Linked DNA regions of Homo sapiens: all the other regions are linked to region 1. Evidence: promoter capture Hi-C in 16 types of primary human blood cells and fetal thymus (Javierre and others, 2016). All regions are on one chromosome and are shown on one strand. Each heading gives the region's core, a stretch centred on a gene start or on the middle of the fragment in contact. The rest is flanking DNA. Distances are from core to core; before and after follow the strand shown.

What was found. The method cuts DNA at HindIII sites, captures the fragments that hold promoters and counts their contacts. A CHiCAGO score of 5 or more calls a contact.
Region 2: a contact is called between a fragment that was not itself captured here and the fragment with the promoter of LINC01220 in region 1, in 2 of 17 cell types (activated CD4 T cells and total B cells). The highest score is 6.4, in activated CD4 T cells.
Region 3: a fragment that was not itself captured here is called in contact with the fragment with the promoter of LINC01220 in region 1 in 1 of 17 cell types (activated CD4 T cells); the score reaches 9.2 in activated CD4 T cells.

The regions. Positions count from the first base shown.
Region 1 is chr14:75,292,999-75,296,088 of GRCh38, reverse strand. LINC01220 (long intergenic non-protein coding RNA 1220) reads right to left here and starts at 1,685. Exons shown (of 3, transcript NR_038421.1): 1 at 1,548-1,685; 2 at 1,352-1,412. RefSeq lists a silencer at 1,448-1,907 and an enhancer at 1,978-2,117. The HindIII fragment of the contact is 10,176 bases long and covers 1,376-3,090 here.
Region 2 is chr14:74,840,156-74,843,245 of GRCh38, reverse strand. It overlaps LOC105370569 (a long non-coding RNA gene), which reads right to left. Exons shown (of 2, transcript XR_944033.3): 2 at 1,227-2,645. Among named protein-coding and RNA genes, the nearest start is that of PROX2, 34 kb to the left of the region's middle. RefSeq lists an enhancer at 1,185-1,344. The HindIII fragment of the contact is 1,021 bases long and covers 1,111-2,131 here.
Region 3 is chr14:75,556,045-75,559,134 of GRCh38, reverse strand. LOC107984653 (a long non-coding RNA gene) reads right to left here and starts at 964. Exons shown (of 2, transcript XR_001750830.1): 1 at 929-964. The HindIII fragment of the contact is 4,794 bases long and covers 1-3,090 here.

The DNA of each region.
Region 1 (3,090 bases), core at 436-2,935:
GGAAGTTGGGTGAGACTGAAAGGGGAAAGAGAAAGAGAGAAGCATTGAAGAGGCACTCTTCCCCACCCCCAGCAAGGAACCCTCCATGTGCCATGAAAAGACTTCCAAACAGCAGAAAAGGGTTAGGGCTACTCCTGCCTCCTGCTGTAATCTTGGCTGAGAAAAGTTTAATGCAAGGCTTGGGTAACTATGAAAAGTGACCAACTGCTAGACTAAGACTGGTTTCAGAACAGCCGACTCCTGTTCCCTGGACAGGGGTGACCATTCCAGCTGCTCTAAGGAGGAATGCTTGAGGCTTTAGGAAGTACACAATTCTTGGCCATCCCCCCCAGGCCCTGGTGTCATGGTGTGGGCTGCGTGTGGCAGCAGACGTGACAATGGCGTTCTTTAAGAGCCCTGAAGTCAATATTTAGCCTAAATGTACAACCCACCAGCTGAGCCAGGCAACAGGGTTCTGAAGCACAGGAAATTAGAAGCACCTAGGCGATGTGGAACACTATTTGAAGCTAGATATCCTGACTTTTATCAGTTTCTAACTAGCTGTGCAAGTTTGGATGGTCGAACCAACTTCTCTGAGCTTTAATTTCCCTGTTGGCGAAATAGGTTAAATTAGATTAAAAGTCTCCGATGTGACTTCCAGCTCTGAAACTCTGGAAAACACACACTCCTTCAGCCAGAGGAACTGGGGAATCTAGGGGGCAGGGATGGGGGTGGGAGGATGGTGACAGGCGTCTTGAAGGATTAACCCCACGCTTCTCCTCGCAATTGCAATCGGCTCCCCAGCAGCGGCCACTGCGGCACTGCCTGCCCCACCCCCGCCCTCTGGGCCCGGCGGTACACACCCACGGCTCCCTCAGAGACTTCTGGAATCTCGCTGGATTTCTCCCAGGAATGCTTATTGCCCTTTAGATCTGCAAATCGCTTTACATCAGCAACCCTGCCGCGCGATTATTAATCATCTCAATATTCTCCCCCATCCCCTACCCTCCCCCTCGCCCGGCCTGGAAGAGGAATTGCAGGGGTCCGGATTTATGAAGGTGATTCGTATTATTCATTCAATAATCAGTTAACTAAAGTTCATTAAGCGCCTAATAGGAGCAAGGTGCAGAGACACACAAATCCAATCACCACAGGGGGCAGAACTGTAGGGGGTCGATGCTCAAAGAACTTCACTGATATTCCAGTTATGTCCTGGGGAGGGGGTGGTTAGAGGGTGATGGAAAAGCTCCCCTCACAAGCCTGATGACAGTGCTGCAACCATTATGGACCACCCCCACGGTTCGTTTTATCATGCCAGGAAAAGGAAAATGGCCTTCCCAAGGTCACTTATCCCCCGAGGGGCAACACTGACCCCAGAACCGCCGTCTTCAAAGCTTTCCACTGTGCCATGAAGGAAAATTTTGAGTTGAAGCCTATAAAATACAGCGTTGGGCGAGAGATGGCATGATTTCCGGGCACAGAGTGAGAAAATCGTGATCCCAGATCACCCACCCACAACAAACGAGACCGCCCCAAATCTTGACTGCAGCTACAACCAGCAGACGCACAGGAATGCTGGAAACAGCTCATTCATCCATCGCGGCGCCCTCTCTCTGGGCCCCCAGCGCCCCTGCCCTTGCCTCCGCCTGGGTGGGTCCCGGGACAGGAGGCGGGGGTCTCGTGGCTCGGAGCCTTCGCCCAGCATTCCAGGGGCGGGGCAGGGACCGGGGGCGGGGCGCGGCGGGAGTCCCGCCCACAGCCTACCCCGGGCCGGCGGCGCAGTGGCTGAGCCAAATATGGGCAGAGCGGAAGCGGCGGGCCGGCGTCACGGCGCCGGGTGGGGGCCGCGCTGCGGGGCGGTGACGGGAGTCGCTGACGGCGCCTACGTGTCACCGTGGAAACCAAACAGTAAACAGAGGACTCGCGAGCTCCTGGCACCGTCTGGCCCTGCGACCTGCCCTGGAGCAAAGGGCCGGAAGCTGGGAAGGGCCAGGAGAAACCTTGGCCTGGCCGACGAGGACAGGGGCGCGGCAAGGGTGTAGAGAGGGCGGTGGAGGGGACGCTGAGAGAGCACTCCCAAACGTCCCTCCCTGAGGTCCCTGGAAGCCGGCTCTCCCTCTGCCCACGGGCCAGCAGGGGCTGGTCAGGAGCGGAAGGAGGCCCTCCTGTCCCTTCTTTTTCTTTTCCTTTGTTTTTTTTTTTTTTTTTTTTTTTTTTTTTGAGATGGAGTCACGCTCTATCGCCCAGGCTGGAGTGCACTGGCGCGATCTCTGCTCACTGCAACCTCTGCCTCCCGGTTCAAGCGATTCTCCCGCCCCAGGCTCCCAAGTAGCTGGAACTACAGGCGCGCGCCACCGTACCCGGCTAATTTTTTACATTTTTAGTAGAGACAGGATTTCACCACGTTGGCCAGGTTGGTCTCCAACTCCTGACCTCAGGTGATCCGCCCGCCTCGGCCTCCCAAAGTGCTGGGATTACCGCGCCCGGCCTCTCCTGTCCCTTCTGAGGGCCTCCGTGCCTGCAAGGTTGTTGCGGATACTGATTTTGCTTTGTTTTTCCTTTCTAATGGCTAAGAGTTCAGGCATTGAAGCCACACTGCCTGGACTCTAATTCCAGCGCTGCCACTCCAGTTGGATGATCTTGAGCAGACCTCTGCGCCCCAGACTATATTATTATCTACAAAAATAAGGATAATAGCAGGACCTACCTTTAAGAGTAGATGAGGACTTTTAAAATGAGTGTGTGTGTGTGTGTGTGTGTGTGTGTGTGTGTGTGTGTTTGGAACAGTGTCAAGCATGTTGTGAGCCCCAAGTTAGTGTTAAGTGTTTATTTTTATTCCCAGGCAGCACAAGAGAAACTTACGTAGTATTAGTAGTGCATCTCCTAAATCTACTACTGACGTAATGTTTTTTTTCTCGAGTCTTCTTTAGATTTAAAATAAAAGGGGGCCGGGCGCTGTGGCCCACGCCTGTAATCCCAGCACTTTGGGAGGCCAAGGCAGGAGGATCACTTGAACCTAGGAGTTCTAGACCAGCCTGGGCAACATAAGGAGACCCCGACTCTACAAAAATAAAAAAAAATAGCTGGGCATGGTGGTGCACACCTGTGATC
Region 2 (3,090 bases), core at 372-2,871, 450 kb after region 1:
ACTGCATATTATGTGTTACAAGGATGGAAGATGAGTAAAACATAATTCTCACCTTCTAGGAGCTTGTATGTAAGTGGGTAAGGATGGGGGGGAAGGATATATAAGTTACTCTACTAGAAAGGCAAATTAAGAGAAGATGGTAGGACATGTACAAACAAAGCCTGTGAGAGCTGGGAGGGAACAAGATGAGGAACAGATTCAGGGACGCAGTACCATGTGAGCTGGGCCTTTGGACAGTTTCTCCCACCACCGATCTTTTTTTTGAGATGGAGTCTTGCTCTGTCACCCAGGTTGGAGTGCAGTGGTGTAATCTTGGGTCACTGCCTCCTGGGTTCAAGTGATTCTCCTGGCTCAGCCTCCCGAGTAGCTGAAAATTTTTATATTTTTAGTAGAGATGGGGTTTCACCATGTTGTCCAGGCTGGTCTCAAACTCCTGACCTTGCATGATCCACCTGCCTCGGCCTCTCAAAATGCTGGGATTACAGGCATGAGCCACCGTGCCTGGCTTTTTTTTTTTTTTTTTTTTTTTGAGATGAGGTCTCACACCCTGTTGCCCAGGGTGGACAGCAGTATCAGCTCACTGCAGCCGACATTTTTGTTGCCCAGGCTGGTCTCTAATTCCTGGGCTCAAGTGATCTGCCTGCCTCAGCTTCCCAAAGTGCTAGGATTACAAGTGTGAACCACTGTGCCCAGCCAATAATGCTAATATCTAAAGGATGAGAAAAGCAAGGCAGAAACAATAGAAACCCCAGGGAATAAGTCACACAGTGTGGCTGCAGTGTAGTGCACATGTAGTAAGGACAGCTCAAGAGGAATCTGGAGAAGTAGCTGGGATCATGTTACTGATAGACTTTAACGCCAAGTTGATGAATTTGTCCTTAAAAAGATTAGGAATGGAGCGCTACCGAGTGAAGCAGGTAAGATGCTCATCACTGGGTGAAAGCAAATGGACTAGTTACATAAGAAATTACAAATTAAAGAAAACAAAATTATTAATAGTTCTGTAAGCTATTTGCATAACAATACACAAATGATTTTCTCTACTTTGTGGAGAAAACTCCACTGCTCTTGTACAATCACTGAATCCAATACTCTGTTAATTTTCAAGCTTCTGTTATTCATGAGAATTACCCAACCAAGTAGTAAGTGTTTAAGAGGGATCCTAGGTGTATAGCTACCTTATACATGAGAGTTTAAGGAAGTTGGTTTCAGAAGTAATCACATTGTTCCTGATAGTCATATCAGAATGTATTTCCAGGTCCACAGAGTTTAGTAAATACACACATGTCCACTTGCACACGACACACAAAATAAAGGAGAATTCACCATCCTAGAATTTATGAAGGTCTTCATAAAGGAGGTATTGTAGTTAAGAAAAAAGAAAGTGACAGGTTATGGACCAGGAAACCCAAATTCTAGTCTTGTTTTGCCACTGAGTAACAGTGAGACTTTGAGCAAGTCACTTCCCTTCTTTCGGTCTCAGAAACCTCATCTGTAAAACAAGAAGGATCTCACCAGAACCAACTCTAAGGTCTAACCACTTCTCTAAATATCAAAGGTTTCAAGCCGGCAGTCCACAAGTCAGATGTGGCAGGCAGGCTGTGAGGGCCAAAGCACTCACAAACAAAAAGAACCTGATGCTGAAATACTGGAAGATCTCACATAAAAATCCAGATTTTTCACTTTTTCTTGAAAACCCAGGAAATCTGGCAATATGAGACCTATATCCCCACATGGCCACAATCTGCTATGGCTGAGCAGGTGCTGCCCCCGATTGACCTGACCTATCTAGTTGTCTAGTTTACCAGTCTCCACCCTCTGCCTTGCTCATCTGTTACCTGCCTGAGTCTGTGACCCTTGCCATACACATAGGAAACATTCCCTGTATTTACTCACTCTACAGATATATGAGCCATGCACTGAGCCAGATGCTGTAAAAGAAATAAGCATCAGACATATCTACTTGAGAAATACAAACTCACTGTCAGAAATAACAGATCTGAGAGTGGAATTTCAAGTTATGGCAGAAGATATTATTTCAATTTTTCAAATATGGTTAAGAGATGGATCTGTAGCCTAGATCAGTATTTTCAGGAAAAGGAGTACGAATATTTGGTAAAAAGTTCAAGCTTCTTAAGTAGAAGACACAAAGTCAAGCCTTTCCCTATACAGTAAACCATTAAGTCCACAGGCTCTTTGTAGGATCACAAATGCAAGGCACTGCTGGCAGGCAGAGGGCTGTACATGAATGCAGAAGCTCAGCCCCAGTCATAAAGATGCTCCTTGACTATTTCAAATGTGAAAGCAATGGACCTGAAAACTGAGAATGGATCAGTCACTGAGGTGCACGTGCATATAAATATCCAGGTTCTGAGAACAGTGACCTAAGGTATTAACTCTCAGTCACGTGTGGACCAGGGGATCATCAGAGTCTCTGACCATTCTGGTTCTCTAAGACACATCATGGTTCTTTGCTTTGTCAGTCTCCTATCATGCAGAATTTTCCAGGAAACAAGATGTGCCTTCGTCATCTCATTACTGTCATACTGTCTTGAGAGTTCACCGCTGTGCTGTGCTGGTCCTTAAGTGCTTGTCATCCTTTGAGTATGTCTATGAAATGGTGCCATCGGTATTTTCCTTCATTGCTAGAAATCAGGCAAGTACAGGAAGCTGCAGAATGACTGAGTATATGTGAAATTCATAATTTATAACAGTAAACGAGAGCATGAATACCCATTAATAGAGACTCTGTAAGTTAAAATGATAGTAAAGACATAAAACATTCTGCAGCTGCAAAAGAGAATGAGTTGGAAAGCTACTCAGCAATAAAAAGGAATAAGCTATTGACACACATAACAACTTAAATGAATCTCAAGAAAATTACGCTGAGTGAAAAAAGCCAAAATGCCAATCCCAAAAGGTTACATACTGTATGACTTCATATTTATAACATTCTTTAAATGACAAGATTATAAAAATGGAGACCAGATTAGTGGCTGCCAAGGGTTAGAGATGGTGGGGTTGGGGGACTAGGAGAAAGGTGGAGGGTGGTTACACCAACCTACATATATGAAAGAATTGTATACAAAT
Region 3 (3,090 bases), core at 356-2,855, 260 kb before region 1:
AGTGTGTGGGGGTCACTGTAATCAGGTGCATCTCAGCTCTAGGTCACAATTCCGTGACATCTTGCCTTCAGCCCCAGGTTTTAGACCCAGACAGAACTAGATCCCCATTATAGTAGTGCAGTGACCTTCCTGAGGCCACCAGATCATCCCAGTCAGTCCTGCTTCCTGGGCATTTAGGGCTCTTATGGACTTGTTCCCCCACCCCCTGGGGATAAACAATGAGACACAAACCTTTGAGGGAGCCATAGGTAATTTAGTCACAGTCCAAACTCAAAATTCTCAACCTGAAGTAGACAAGGCTTGAGAATATATGAATGAATGAATTATTTATATTTATGATTAATTAATTCATTTATCAAACCTATAAATATCACATATCTGCTCTGCTGGGCACTAGGAATATAGCAGTAAACAAGACACAGATAGTCTCTGCCCTCACTCATGGGTTAGTGAATGGCCTATCTGGACAGCCATTTAACTGTCCACCATGAGTCACCACTGGGGGTTTTGGGCACGATGTAAGTAGATATCTGGTCTCTGTCATCTTCTCTCAATGATTGCTGTGGTTTAAATGTCTCCTCCAAAACTCGTGTTGAAATTTAATTGCCATTGTAACAGAGTTGAGAAGCGGGGCCTTTAAGAAGTGATTCGGTCATGAGGACAGAGCCCTCATGGATTAATGGGTCCCTCGATTAATGTCATTGTCACAGAAGCGGGTTTATCTTTGGAGTGGGTTCCCAATAAAAAAGACGAGTTTGGCTCACTTCCCTTTCTGTCTCATGTGCTTGCTTCCACCTTCCACCCTTCTGCCATGGGATAACACTTGCCAGATGCTGGCGCCATGCTCTTGGATTTCCCAGCCTCCAGAACTATGAGAAATAATTTTTTTTCCCTACAAATTACCCAAGCTGGGCATGGTGATTCACACCTGTAATCCCAGCAACTCAGGAGGCTGAGGCAGGAGGATCACTTGAGGTTAGGAGTTCAACACTAGCCTGGGCAATGTAGTGAAACTTCATCTCTAAAAAAAAAAAAAAAAATTTAATTAGCTGGGTGTGGTGGCATGTGTAGTCCCAGTTACTTGGAAGGCTGAGGAAGGAGGATCCCTTGAGCCCAGGAGTTCGAGGCTGCAGTGAGTTATAATCATGCCACTGCACTCCAGGCTGGGTGACAAAGTGAAACTCTCTCTCTCTGCTCCCTGAATTTCAGCACAGTGCCTCTCAGCCCTCCCAGCTGTGGCTCAAGCAGCCTGGGTGCTCCAGAAAGAATAGGTGGTAAACCTTGATGGCAAACATTTGGTGTTAAGTCTGCAAGGATGCAAAATGCAAGGGCTATAGAAGCATGGCTTCCTCTGCTTAGATTTCAAAGGATGTCATGGATCACCTGGAAGCTCAAGTAGAAATCTGCTTCAGGGGAACGGTCACCTCAGAGAGTCCCCACTAGGGCAATCCCAAGTGAAAATGTGGGGTTGGAGCCACTTCGGTTTGAATGTGCCCTCCAAAACTCATACTGAAATTTAATTGCCATTGAAACAGTGTTGAGAGGCAGGACCTTTAAGAGGTGATTAGCTCATGAGGGCTCCACTCTCATGAATAGATTAACGCCATTATCACAGGAATGAGTTGGTTGTTGCAGGAGTGGGTTCCTGATAAAAAGGTGGAGTTTGGTCTGCTCCCCTCTCTGTCTCATGTGCTCACTTCTGCCTTCCACCCTTCTGCCATGGGATGACCCTGGCCAGATACTGGTGCCATGCTCTTGGACTGGCCAGCCTCCAGAGTTGTGAGAAATAAATTTCATTTCTTTGTAAATTACTGAGTCTGTGGTATTCAATTACAGCAGTACGTAGGTTGTGTTCGTGTTTGTAGGGTGTAGAGGCATGAACCACCAGCAAGGCAGGCCAACCAGCTTCCATTACCATGGAAGCAGGATTTGGAGTAATAGAAAATAGGCGATGAGGGTGGACTGGGGCTAATCTATTTCTACAGGGCCTTGTGCAGGATTCCAACTTGCTTTTACTTTGATCCTGGTCTTTCCCTCTGTCTAATAGGTGACAGCTAGACACAGACTAAAAGCTAGATAACACTGTGACTGAGGAGACACAGTTCCCTGCCCTCGCCTCTTCCAGCCCCACCTGGGACTCTATCCCTAATCTCTACCATCTTCACAAGAATACATGCCTTCCCTTGATTCCTGCTCTTAAAATATCTGATTGATTCTTACTTTTTATATGTTAACTGAATATTTATTTTGTCATTTGTATTCCATCGTCAGAATAATAATTGGCTTGGATTTTACATTCCTAGAAGGCAGGCACTGTGTTCCATCCATCCATCCATTTATTCATTCAGCCAATGAATATTTATTGAATTTCTACTCTGTGGTAGGCTCTTTGCTACTGTGCAAGGAGCTGAGAATACAATGGTGAGCAAAACATTGGCAATCCCTGACATTATAGAATGGATGGTCCAGTCACAGAGACAAATGTTAACCAAATAACCACATAGATAAATGTAAATTTTCAGTCTGTGTTAATGGGTATAAAGGAAGGGCATGAGGTGCTATGAAACTATTTGAAATTGCAGTTCTGATCTAGCCTGGGAATCAAGCAAAATTTCCCCAAGCTGGTATTTGACAAAAGGTAGGAATGAATGAGCTAGAAGGGTAAGAGCATTTCAGTTAGGGCTGAGCAGAATGAGCAAGGCTCTTGGGCTGGAGGGAGCACGCAGAGATTTGGGGAAGGGACAGATGCCAGTGCAGAGGAAAAGAGGGTGATATGAAGTGAGCTGGGGGACAGAGGGTGCAAGGTCTCCAGCGCCCCCACTAAGAATTGAGTCTTCATCATATAATCACCCCGAGTAACTCATAAACCCCAATCACACTGTGCACCAGTAGTCAATGGATAACATTTTATGTGAATAATGCTGACTTCACTTAGAGAAGATGTGCTAATGGTGGTTGGGGTGGAGAGGATTGACGTGGTGCTAATGTGACTCGCAATCTAATTTCACAGCTCCCATGGCCCAGATATGAAGAGCTGATCCCTAGGAATGGGTACCTATGTGTATGGCTGCAAGTTGAAAGATGATTGGC